3 separate regions of the Homo sapiens genome follow, and all the other regions are linked to region 2. The links are contacts of gene promoters, found by promoter capture Hi-C in blood cells and fetal thymus (Javierre and others, 2016). All regions are on one chromosome and are shown on one strand. The core of a region is centred on a gene start or on the middle of the fragment in contact, and the rest is flanking DNA. Distances in the headings are between cores, read along the strand shown. Region 1 overlaps MARCHF6 (membrane associated ring-CH-type finger 6). Region 2 holds the start of LINC02213 (long intergenic non-protein coding RNA 2213). Region 3 overlaps MARCHF6 (membrane associated ring-CH-type finger 6).

The links. The method cuts DNA at HindIII sites, captures the fragments that hold promoters and counts their contacts. A CHiCAGO score of 5 or more calls a contact.
Region 1: a contact is called between a fragment that was not itself captured here and the fragment with the promoter of LINC02213 in region 2, in 1 of 17 cell types (neutrophils). The highest score is 6.4, in neutrophils.
Region 3: a contact is called between a fragment that was not itself captured here and the fragment with the promoter of LINC02213 in region 2, in 1 of 17 cell types (neutrophils). The highest score is 5.8, in neutrophils.

What each region holds. Positions count from the first base shown.
Region 1 is chr5:10,377,613-10,381,445 of GRCh38, reverse strand. It overlaps MARCHF6 (membrane associated ring-CH-type finger 6), which reads right to left. Exons shown (of 26, transcript NM_005885.4): 2 at 3,552-3,648; 3 at 2,614-2,687. Among named protein-coding and RNA genes, the nearest start is that of MIR10397, 23 kb to the left of the region's middle. The HindIII fragment of the contact is 714 bases long and covers 972-1,685 here.
Region 2 is chr5:10,520,503-10,524,688 of GRCh38, reverse strand. LINC02213 (long intergenic non-protein coding RNA 2213) reads left to right here and starts at 2,605. Exons shown (of 3, transcript NR_134289.1): 1 at 2,605-2,933. The HindIII fragment of the contact is 13,630 bases long and covers 1-3,840 here.
Region 3 is chr5:10,360,864-10,364,761 of GRCh38, reverse strand. The region is part of intron 1 of MARCHF6 (membrane associated ring-CH-type finger 6); the gene reads right to left. Among named protein-coding and RNA genes, the nearest start is that of MARCHF6-DT, 8.8 kb to the right of the region's middle. The HindIII fragment of the contact is 2,118 bases long and covers 227-2,344 here.

The DNA.
Region 1 (3,833 bases), core at 79-2,578, 140 kb after region 2:
TAAAGCAAACAGGAGCAAAAGATGAAGCTGACAACAAGCCATCAACACTCCCCCAAATATAAGCATTAAATAGCACTCAAAAAGCACAACAGTCCGCAGCAGATCATTTCATGTGGGAGCAAACATCCCACTGACATTTGTTAGCCACTTTCCCGATGTTAGCATAATACTTAAAATTTCAAATGATAAATTCAGATCTTCCCACTACTCTGAGAAATGTGGCTCAACACATTCAGAAAAAGAAAAGTTCTGCCACATTTAAAAAGGATTCCCTTTTAAAATGGTTCCAATAAAAAACCACTGCCTATTATCAAAAACCTCTACCACAGGTAGCTCGGAAAGAACATAAAGGAAAAACAAACAATTCTTTCTCCAGTAAGGCCAAAACAAGAAATTATGATATATCAGGGTTTAAAAGCAATGATCTAAAATTTATAAGAACACTATCACAAAACTGTTCACACCTATAAACATTGAGAAATAAACAACTGACAAATAGCACCTTTTTTTTTTTTTTTTGAGTCAGAGTCTCACTCTGTTGCCCAGGCTGGAGTGCGGTGGCATAATCTCAGCTCACTGCAAACTCCGCCTCCCAGGTTCAAGTGATTCTCCTGCCTCAGGCTCCCAAGTAGCTGGGATTACAGGCGTCTGCCACCACACCTGGCTGATTTTTGTATTTTCAGTAGAGACAGGGTTTCCACCATGTTGGCCAGGCTAGCCTCAAACTCCTGACCTCAGGTGGTCCGCCTGCCTCAGCCTTTCAAAGTGCTGGAATTACAGGGGTGAGCCACAGCACCTGGCCACAAATAGCAACTTTTAATGGCACATGCCCACAGATCATTGACTTCGATAGGATATCTGGTATACAAGAGCAAGTCATTAAAACCAGGAATAATAGAGATTTTTTGCAAAAGATAAAAGAAATAGAGAATGTAACTATCAAATGAAAATTAAAATGTACAAAACAAGCTTCTATTGGCCTCAAAGTAAAAGCCCACATATTTCCTATCAACTGAATTTCATGAAGATACTCAACTAGTTAGTCTTAGTTTCCTATGAATCTTGACAAGCTGTACAGCTTTTACGTACTACAGAAAATTAATGACTACAAAATAACAGAATTGACTTTTTTATGATGAATATACAGCTCCAAAAGTGAAAATGTAATAACTTTAATCATTTATACTCATCAAATAAAAACAAAGTAAAACACTAAGTTACAGCATTTATATCGAGAAGCTCAAGATGCTTAAACACACACACACACACACACACACACACACACACACAACTAAAACACAAAAATCCTTTGTAAGGGAAGGCAATATAGGGGATCCCAGAATGAAAAATTATGCTTCAAATATTTAATAACTTGCCAGCACAGTCCTCTACTTATTTGAGATAAAACATATTAAATATTAATAGGCACAGGAATCATAGTTAAAACCTTAAAGGCTGCAAAAATATTTTATAAAGGCTTATGAAATATTGACCTTAAAAGTTAGCCTCATGAAAAAAACGGTAATTTAAAACTTTGTTTGGCCAAGCAATGTGGCTCAAGCCTGTAATCCCAACACTTTGGGAAGCTGTGACAGGAGAATTGCTTGAGGCCAGGAGTTCAAGAACAACCTGGGCAATATAGTGAGACCCTCTCTCTATTTTTTATTATTTTTTTAAAAAAAGCTTGCTGGGCGCGGTGGCTCACGCCTGTAATCCTAGCACTTTGGGAGGCTGAGGCAGGCAGATCATGAGGTCAGGAGATCGAGACCATCCTGGCTAACATGGTGAAACCCCGTCTCTACTAAAAATACAAAAAAATTAGCCAGGTGTGGTGGTGGGCACCTGTAGTCCCAGCTACTCGGGAGGCTGAGGCAGGAGAATGGCGTGAACCCGGGAGGCGGAGCTTGCAGTGAGCTGAAATCACGCCATTGCCCTCCAGCCTGGGCAACAGAACAGAGCGAGATTCTGTCTCAAAAAAAAAAAAAGCTTTATCTTTATGACTATTATTCTAACCTATACAACTTTAACTCAAAATGTAGTCCAAATTTGAAGAGTACTGAATATTTGATGAAATCAAGGCATCATTGTTTATTTTTCTAGGTGGATAATGGTATTATAGTTACGTTTTTGAAAAAGAACCCTTACCTTTTAGAGATACATACTGAAGTATGTACAGATGAAATTACAAATGGTAGAATTATTTTTTAAATAATAGAGAAAAAAATAAAAGGATAAAGAGGCAGGGAACAAGAGTGTATGTAAAACAAGACAGGCTATGAGTTGACACTAAGTGATGGGTTCATGTGGACTTGTTAGATTTTTGCATGTGTTCGAACCTGTCTACAATTAAAAGTAAATAAATTTTAAAGACAAAAAAAAACACCCCACAAATCTCAAACATGTGTGTGATAAAAGACAGCATACAGTTTTTCAAAATATTTTCCTAAATATCAATACTTCCTATTACTATCAAAAAAAATCAAGCTGAAAATAATTGCTTTAAAGTGCTTAAGCACTTTTATCCCCCTTCCTCTGTCAACTGATCATATCAAACACCTTTATGCCACGAGTGATAACCAAAAAAAATGCAGTGAAAATGTCTAAAGAACTTACTTGGTGTAAAAGCAAATCTGTGCTTGCATAATTCACAGTATTCTTTTCGACTGTGTTTCAGCCATTGAACTAAGCTGTAATTATAAATAGATTCATAAGTACAGTGTTTACAGCAAAGAAACATTACAGTTTTGTCGAAAACATTGTTTTTATTAAAAATGTATATATCACAGAGCTTTTAGTTTCAAAATTTTCAAATTTAGAATATTCTTAACTTTTTGTAACTGCCTTCTAAGAATGAAAAACTACAACAGCTAGAGATAAAAACAACACATTTTTCTACCATTAAAAAAGGTTCAATTAATCAAAACTGTAATTTCCTCAAAGCAAAATGAACATGAAAGAATCTCTAAGCATCAACATCAGTTTTAATCCTGGTCTGATAATACTGGTACCTGGTAGCTAGGTCTGAATCCTGGTTCTGCCACTAACTGGCTGGCTATGTGGCCAAGGACAAGTTATCTAGCCTTCCCATGCTTCAATTTCCTCATCTGCATAATAATAATACTCCACCTCATCACAATTTTCTTATAAGGATTAAAAATGAGTTGAGATGTACAAACCACTAAGAACAGTTCTTGGCAAAAAGTACTTCATAAATGTAAGCTACTATTATGCCAAGCAAAACTAGAAAATCATAACACTTTCAGAGGACAAAATAAGCTCTCCATGGTAGAAATAAACAATGGGTAATTACGTGTACCTGGAAGAGGATACACCAAAATAACAGCCATGGTATTAAGAATTAATGGATAATTTCTTTTCCAAATTTTTTAATTTTTACAATAAAAGGGCTTTTTCAGTTTCCTGTGCTCAGGAAAATACAATAAAACTTTTAAAAATAATTACAGAGAAAGTACATTGAAATGATCCCTGTTACTGTATACATGACGAAACTGAAGCTCAGACTTACATAACTTTCTAAAAGTATGACTTACCATTCTTGATGGATAAACTTAATACTGCCAGTACATACACAAGGATGATAAAGCGGTTTCTCAGGTGTTCCTTCTGACCGACACACTCTACATATGTCTGCCAATGAAAAAGGAAAATTGAATTTCCTTTGGTTATAACTTTTTTAAAAAAGCAAGAAACAAGCATAAACCAAAATATTGGACATTAAAGCAAGAATCTATCACTTGACAAAACATTAATAGTACGGAGAACTGAAAGTTGTGATTAAGTTGCTATTCAAGTGTTTATCTAAAACTAAAAAA
Region 2 (4,186 bases), core at 1,356-3,855:
TCTTCCCTCCGGTTTGTAGACTCAGGGTACTAAGCAGACATACGCTTTGCATGGCTGGTGTTCACCATCACAGCCGCTGCAGGCTGGGAGATCTCCATTAGAAAGGTTTTAATGAGCTCCTCCTAACTGCCAGTGCCTTCCATCTAGTGATTCATTCACTCTCATCCCACAAACGTTTATTAAGTACCCGCTATGTGCCAACGAAGGCGCAAGGATGCTTAACCATTTGGGAGCCAAAAGTGATGATAATATAAATCTCTTTCTTTGGCCAAACCAGAGAGCAGTGGCGATTCGGATTCTTTATGGGAAAACCCTCACATCCCCGTCTTTAATGAAGGCAGATGGCACACAACAGATCTGCAGCACAATAGGTGCTTGTCATCAGAAGCATTTTCATCAAAGTATTTTCAAGGTCTTTTTTTTTTTTTTTTTTTTTTTTGAGACGGAGTTTCGCTCTGTCGCCCAGGCTGGAGTGCAGTGGCGCGATCTCGACTCACTGCAAGCTCCGCCTCCCGGGTTCACGCCATTCTCCTGCCTCAGCCTCCCGTGTAGCTGGGACTACAGGCGCGTGCCACCATGCCCGGCTAATTTTTGTATTTTTAGTAGAGACGGGGTTTCACCGTGTTAGCCAGGATGGTCTCGATCTCCTGATCTCGTGATCCGCCCGTCTCGGCCTCCCAAAGTGCTGGGATTACAGGCGTGAGCCACCGCACCCGGCCTTTCAAGGTCTTTAAAACTACTAAACAGCTCCCCAGGGCATGGCCGTTTCAGGCGTCTGGATAACATGTGTTTGGTGTCTAAGGCAGTCGGCCGTCAGCAAATGCTGAAGGAAACCTGGCGATGTGAAAATTGTCATTATTTGGTCACCCGAAAAAGTGAAGCTGAGGGCTGGAGGGCAAGGGAAAAGTTAAACCAGGAGTGAAATCACATTTCCATGTGCACTCACACAGGGAGAATGAGATTCCACCTCCCTCTTGATGCACCAGCCCAGCCCTGCAGGTTGAGTAGGAGGTGGTGTGAGAGGGCCCCCCCAGCACAGGCAGAACACCTGGAAGAAGACTTGACTCTGTTTCCTTTTGTGCCCTTCCCACGTCTCCCACCCTGCTGCCCGCTGCCCTGGCTAATGTGGGCTTGGATCATGAAATGATTTGGCTCTGTGTCCCCACCCAAATCTGAATTATCACTCCCATAATCCCAGTGGGAGGTAATCAAATCATGGGGACGGGTCTTTCCCCTGCTGTTCTCGAGATAGTGAATAAGTCTCAGGAGATCTGATGATTTTATGAAGGGTAGTTCCCCGCACAAGCTCTCTTGCCTGCCACCATGTAAAATGTGCCTTTGCTCCTCCTTCACCTTCCACCATGATTGGGAGGCCTCCCCCACCATGTGGAACTGTGAGTGCATTAAACTCTTTTTCTTTATAAATTACCCAGTCTTGAGTATTTCTTCACAGGAGTGTGAAAATGGACTAATACAGATCATGATCCCTGCCACAACCTTGCTTGAGTGTGGCCTACTGGGCCCTTCATTGTCTAAATCTGGCTCACATCTGAGTTTTGACTGAGCATCTCTCACCCTTTCTAGGGGCCACCTCTCTCTATTCACACACACATACAGACACACACACACAGGCACAAACATGTGCACACACACACACACATGTGCGTGCACCCCACTAAAGCAATACCAACCCGTTTGCCCAGGCCCAGCCCTCTCACTCCCCAATGCCCTCCCCTCCCCTTCTCAGGCCTGATGTCAGCCTCAATTCCACCAGCAGGCTTTTTTCAGGAACTTGCAACTCCTTCCAGTCAAAATACAGCATTTTCTGTATGCCCCACATTCTCAACGCACAGATGATGAGAGACAGACAGATAACTGTCTTCTCCCAGTTTAGTTAGTGAGACAAAAAAATACAATTGCCTGCCAAGTCTAAGCACCCTCTAGACCTGCACAGTCTTCCAGCCGTCCAGTCGAGGCCTAGGCCTGTGCCCATCAGAGGTGACACCACGGAATGAGCGTTTCCCGTGAGCCTGGTGCTCTTCGGGCACTAACAACACTCGGTCCTCAAACAGCCTGCCCAGGTGTGTACTGTTATCACCTCCATTGCACAGAGGAAGACGTGCAAGGCACAGAGAGGTTAAGTCACTTTCCCACTGCCACAGAGCTGGTAAGTGGTGGAGACTGGATTTGAACCTAGGCAGCTCTAGAACTCGCTCTCCTAACCAGAATCCAAAGGGCCTTGCCTCACCAAATGTCCCCATTCCCAGACCTGCATCACCCAACAGTGCCCATGACACGGGGTTTACCATAGTTATCTATGCTGCGTAACAAGCATCCCACATTTGATGGCATCAAACAAGAACCATTTTCCCATGCCCAGGGATTCTGCAAGTCAGGAGTTTGGAGAGGATGAAGCCTCAGCCAGGAAGCTGTGAATGGCCATGGCTGACATCCTCCAGGGGCTTCTTCCCTCTTAACCCCTGCCCTGGGAAGCCAGGTTCAGCCAAGCCTGTGTATGAGCCCCAGTGCCTGGCTGCTTCCTGTACCTTGGGCTTCTGGCAGCACAGAGGCGGAGTTCTGAGCAGGAACTTCCTGAAGGGAACGTTCCAAGGGAACCAGGCCTCAGCATCAGGCCTGTTCTGCCCTGGCCTCGGATTGTAGCACTACGCCAGCCTGGGACATCATCGGCATCGATTCTACTCCATCCTATCAGTCACAAGGGAGCCACAGGCCAGCCCTGGGTTCCCAGGGATGGAGAGACTCTGCTTCTGCATGCGGGAATGACACAGTCACACTGCAGAAGAACACGAGTGTAGAAGGCAGCATCATGGCCATTTTTGGTAAACACAACCTGCTGCTCACCCGCCTTGCCCAAGCCTACCTCTTCCAGAAACTTCTGTGTCCCAATTATGGTTCACCTTGATGTCCTAAAGGTATTGACTGCTTACTTCATTGGTCACATTGTCCCTGTGAATGGAAAACCATGACTTAGGGCTACCATACGAGCATTCCATGGTGGCCAGAGTGGCCTGACCCCCTAGTGGTACTAGTGGGGATGACGCTGGAACTGATAGTGGCCTCCCTCTTGTGTTGTTGTGGCATCTTTCCCGGCAATTGGGTGATCAGAAGACACCTGCATTTCTGACCCAAAGCTCTTACAACTTGCAATTGCTCAGGTGGTTGGGGGCGGATCACCTGAGGTTGGGAGTTCGAGACCAGCCTGACTAACGTGGAGAAACCCCAACTCTACTAAAATTACAAAATTAGCCAGGCGTGGTGGTGCATGCCTGTAATCCCAGCTACTCGGGAGTCTGAAGTAGGAGAATCACTTGAACCCGGGAGGCAGAGGTTGTGGTGCACCGAGATCACGCCATTGCACTCAAGCCTGGGCAACAAGAGCCAAACTCCATCTCAAAAAAAAAAAAAAAAAAAGGAACTTGAGCTTTCAGGTTATCATTTGACCATTGACCAAAAACAAGCAGCATTTCTGCTGTGGGGGGGGCGGGGGGGCAGGGGGGCCAGGGGGTGGAAATGGTACAGAATCTTATATTTGTTCAGCTGCTTTATTTTTTTTTTGGTGGCCCCTGGATGAAGAATGGAGATGCAGGCTTGCTGTGTGGCTATAATTGATTTAATACTCAAAAAAAGGGACCAAGAGTCAAAAGCATTTTCTCAAAGTACTCACTACTTTTAAATGACTCTCTAGAAGGAGAGGAAAGGAGGTTTCCTCCAACTCTGCTTTCCCTGGCCTTTGAGAGGCGTGGAAAGAGCCATACGTCCTCACAAATGGTATTCAAAATATGTTTGGCAGCAACTTTTTTATGAAAACACACAAAAGCTTGAGCTAGTACACTGAAATATTAAATACACTTCAATATTTTAGATACTCCTGAAATGCCAACTGACCAAACCAGTCTTTTTTCCCAACTGGGTGTGAAACTCACAACGATCAAGTTTAAGCAATGTATTCATAACTGAGCGTTGACCCCAGGAGATGCCCACTGCCCCAGTAGGGAGGGAGCCACGACTTCTGTGCAAGGGTGCGGCCATGATTGTGTTTTCTTGGAGCCTGCTTCCTAGAGGCGAGCTGACTTCTGTTCCAAGAGGACAGGACAGGCCGGGCACGGTGGCTCATGCCTGTAATCCCAGCACTTTGGGAGACAAAGGCGGAAGGATCACCTGAGGT
Region 3 (3,898 bases), core at 36-2,535, 160 kb after region 2:
AAACCAGCAGTTGCAGCTAATGGCAGGTACTGCAGACTCCTGCTAACAGATACGCAAGTCATGGTGGAGATTCTGCCCAACAGCTGTGGGCAACATCAAGCTTCAGCAGCACAGGCAATGAATGATTCCAACAATTTCAGCAGTAATGAGCTAGTTATCCATGTATCCCCTTCTCAACTCCAAATTCTCCCTTTCAGTCCCTGTTCAGTGATAGGGATGCTAAGCTTTTCTTTTCTTTTCTTTTGGCTAGGGGCAGTTAAACTTTGCCAGTAGAGGGTGCTGGAGGGATATCTAAGAAGAAAGGGGTGTTTTCTAGCTCCTGCCACACTATCAGTAGTTTTGTTTTAATGAACACCTTCATACAGCCCTGCTGATGAGGACCCAACACACTCCAGGACTTGCACAGGTACACACAGTGATATCCCAACTCCCTCTGCATAACTGCCCATCAACCTTGGCTCACCTGTACCCGGAAGGTTGCTTTCTGCTCCCCAGAAGAAGTGGTGTACCACTTTACACTCCCACCAGCAGTATATGAAAATTCCAACTGCTCTACCTCCTTACAAACACTTGGTACGGTCAGTCATTCTATTACCATTTTAGCCACACTAATAGGTATGTAATGATATCTCACAGTAGTTTTAATTAACAATTTTATTCAGATATATGTCATAAAGTTCACCAATTTAAAGACTTCAATTGTTTTAAGTATATTTACAGTTACGCAACCATCACCATAATCTTTTAGAACATTATCATCATCCCAAAAGGAAACCCTGTAACTATTAGTGGATACTTCCTACTCCATCTGCTCTCCCCAGTTCCAGACAACCACTAATTTCTCTATATATAGATTTGCCTATTCTGGACATTTCACACAAATAGGATCATAGAAAATATGTTCTTTTGTGACTGGCTTATTTCACTTATCCTAATGTTTATGAGATTTATCCAAGTTGTACCATGCATCAGTACTTAATTCCTTTGAACTGCTGGGTAATATTCTATTTTACAAATAGATCACATTTATCTACTCATCAGTTGATGGACACTGGGTTGTTTCTATTTGGCTATTATAAATAATACTGCTAACTCATATACAGGTTTTTGTGTGAATATATTTTTTGAATTCTCTTGGGTATATGAAATTTCTGGGTCATATGGTTACTCAGCTTATCTTTTTGAGGAATTACCAAAATCAGTCACACTATCTTACATTCCTAGCGTAACAAATGAAGGTTCCAATTTTTCTACAATGCTCACCAACACTTACCTGTTCTTTCTGATTATAGCCATCCTAGCAGGTGTGAAGTGGTGTCTCATTATGGTTTTGACTAATGATGCTTAGCATATTTGCATATGCTTAATAGCCATGTACATGTATTTTTTAGTGAAGTGTCTATACAAATCTTTGGACCATTTTAAAAACTGAGTTATTGTTTTCTTATTACTGAGTTCTGAGAATTTTTTATATACTCCAAGCCCCTTATAAGATACATCTTCTGTATCCTGTCTTCATTCTGTTAAGTGTCTTTCTAATTTTGAAAGAAATTCTGAATTTTGATGCCATCTGATTTATCCACTTCTTTTATGGATCATGCTTTTGGAGTCATACCTAAGAGATCTTGGTCTAACCCAAGATTCCGAAGAATTTCTCCTATATTTTCCCCTAGAAGTTTCATAGTTTTAGGTTTTTCATTGAGGTCTAACAGCCCTTTGAGTTAATTTTGGTATATGGTACAAGCTATAGCTCAAAGTTCTTTTTTTTTTCCTACAGCTATTCAACTATTCCAGTGCCATTTGTTGAAAAACGATATCCTTTATATTTTATGCAATTGCTTTTGCACTTCTGTCCAAAAATCAACTGTCCATGTATGTGTGGATCTATTTCTGGACTCTATCCTACACTACCAGACAAATGGATTTTAATTTAACAGTTAATTTAATTTTTTAAGGTGACTGCCATGTTTTCAGATACGTTAAGAAACTACCACTTGTCAAGTTTTGACATAGTATCAAAGAACATACAAACATCTGAAAATATTCATCCCTTTTCAAGCTATAAATCTGTGTGATGCCGAGTTTTTATATACACTAACCAAAACACTTAACAAAGTGACTGCAAAGGGAGAGATGAGAATCCAATTGTCTTATAATAATCCAGATAACGTTATTTTTATTAACATATATTGAGTTTATTGTTACTTTTAAATATTCTAAATAATTTGTATTCATTCTTCATTTCTAATATGGTAAATATCTATCTTTACATATAAAACCCACATAAACAAAAGTCCTTTGGGTCCTCAATTTTAAGAATGTAAAGGGGTCTTGGGACAAAGCTTTGAAAACCACTACTCTAGCTACATCAATGCTCTTCAAACTGTTCCATTCAATAGAAATGCCTCTTGGCACTTTTCAAGGACTTGGAATGAAGAAATGAAACATGCAGAAAACATTGTTGCACAGGTCCTAGATACGTAGTAGACATGTACCCAATATTTGGTAAATGGGGAAGTAATCAAAAAAGACATGGAATCTCCAATATTCTATTTCAAAAGTGTTATAACAGAACTGCACCCTAAACAGGGTAAATTTGTGTGTAAATTATACTTTATTAACCTGATTCCATCTTTACAGAATACATTAAGAGGTGACAGAAGGGAAGGAGAGAGACAGGAAAGTAAAAAGTGTATTACAGCCAGGCACAGTGGCTCACACCTGTAATCCCAGCACTTTGGGAGGCCGAGGTGGGCGGATCACCTGAGGTCAGGAGTTCAAGACCAGCCTGACCAACATGGAGAAACCCCATCTCTACTAAAAATACAAAATTAGCCAGGTGTGGTGGTGCATGCCTGTAATCCCAGCTACTCGGGAGGCTGAGGCAGGAGAATCCCTTGAATCCAGGAGGCGGAGGTTGCCATGAGCCGAGATCGCGCCATTGCACTGCAGCCTAGGCAACAAGAGCTAAACTCCGTCTCAAAAAAAAAAAGATATTATAATGAAGTTAAGTTATAAAAAATAAGTGTACAGGGAATGCTTCAGTCTTCCAAGCCTTCAAGAATTCATGTCTATCATGGGCTGAATTGCACTGCCCCTCCCCCCGTAATTCACGTGTTGAAGCCCTAACCTGCATGTATACACAATGTAACTATATTTGGAGACAGGATCTTTAAAGAGGTAATTAAGTTAAAATGAGGTCCTTAGAGTAGGCCCTAATCCAATATGACTAGCGTCTTTAAAAAAAGAAGAGATTAGGACATAGAGGGACAACTACATGAAGACATACAGAGAGAAGACTACATGAAGACACAGAAGACAATCATCTACAAGCCAAGGAGAGAGACCTCAGAAGAAACCAGGCCTACCAACACCTTCATCTCAAACTTCTAGCCTCCAGAGTTGAGAAAACAAATTTCTCTTAAGCACCCAATCTGTAGTACTTTGTTACAGCAGCCCCTGCAAACTAAAACAATATCTAAAACTGAACTACTTATCTCTTTCCATTCCCATTTGAAATAATATAAAAATCAATCATTTTTAACTCCTCCTCCTTATATTACCTCTTCAATTACTATGTTCTATTAATTCTACCTTGGTCTATTTCTTCTTTTCCATTCTTTCCATTCCCTCTACCTTAATGTAACTCCTATATCTCATCTAGCCTACTGCAACAGCATTCTAAAATATAGTCTGAATTATTAAGTTTTCCCTTGGGGGGTTCTTACTTCCTATTCACTTTTCAAGAACTCTTTCTGTTCTAACTGTATTATACTAAAAATAAGTGATCTTCATAGTCTTACAGGACAGAAGTAAAACCCACTAAAGTAAGCCTGGCCTGGAAGAAATGGGAAGTAGGCATCTGGAAGAGGATAGCCCAGCAATAATCACTCACAGG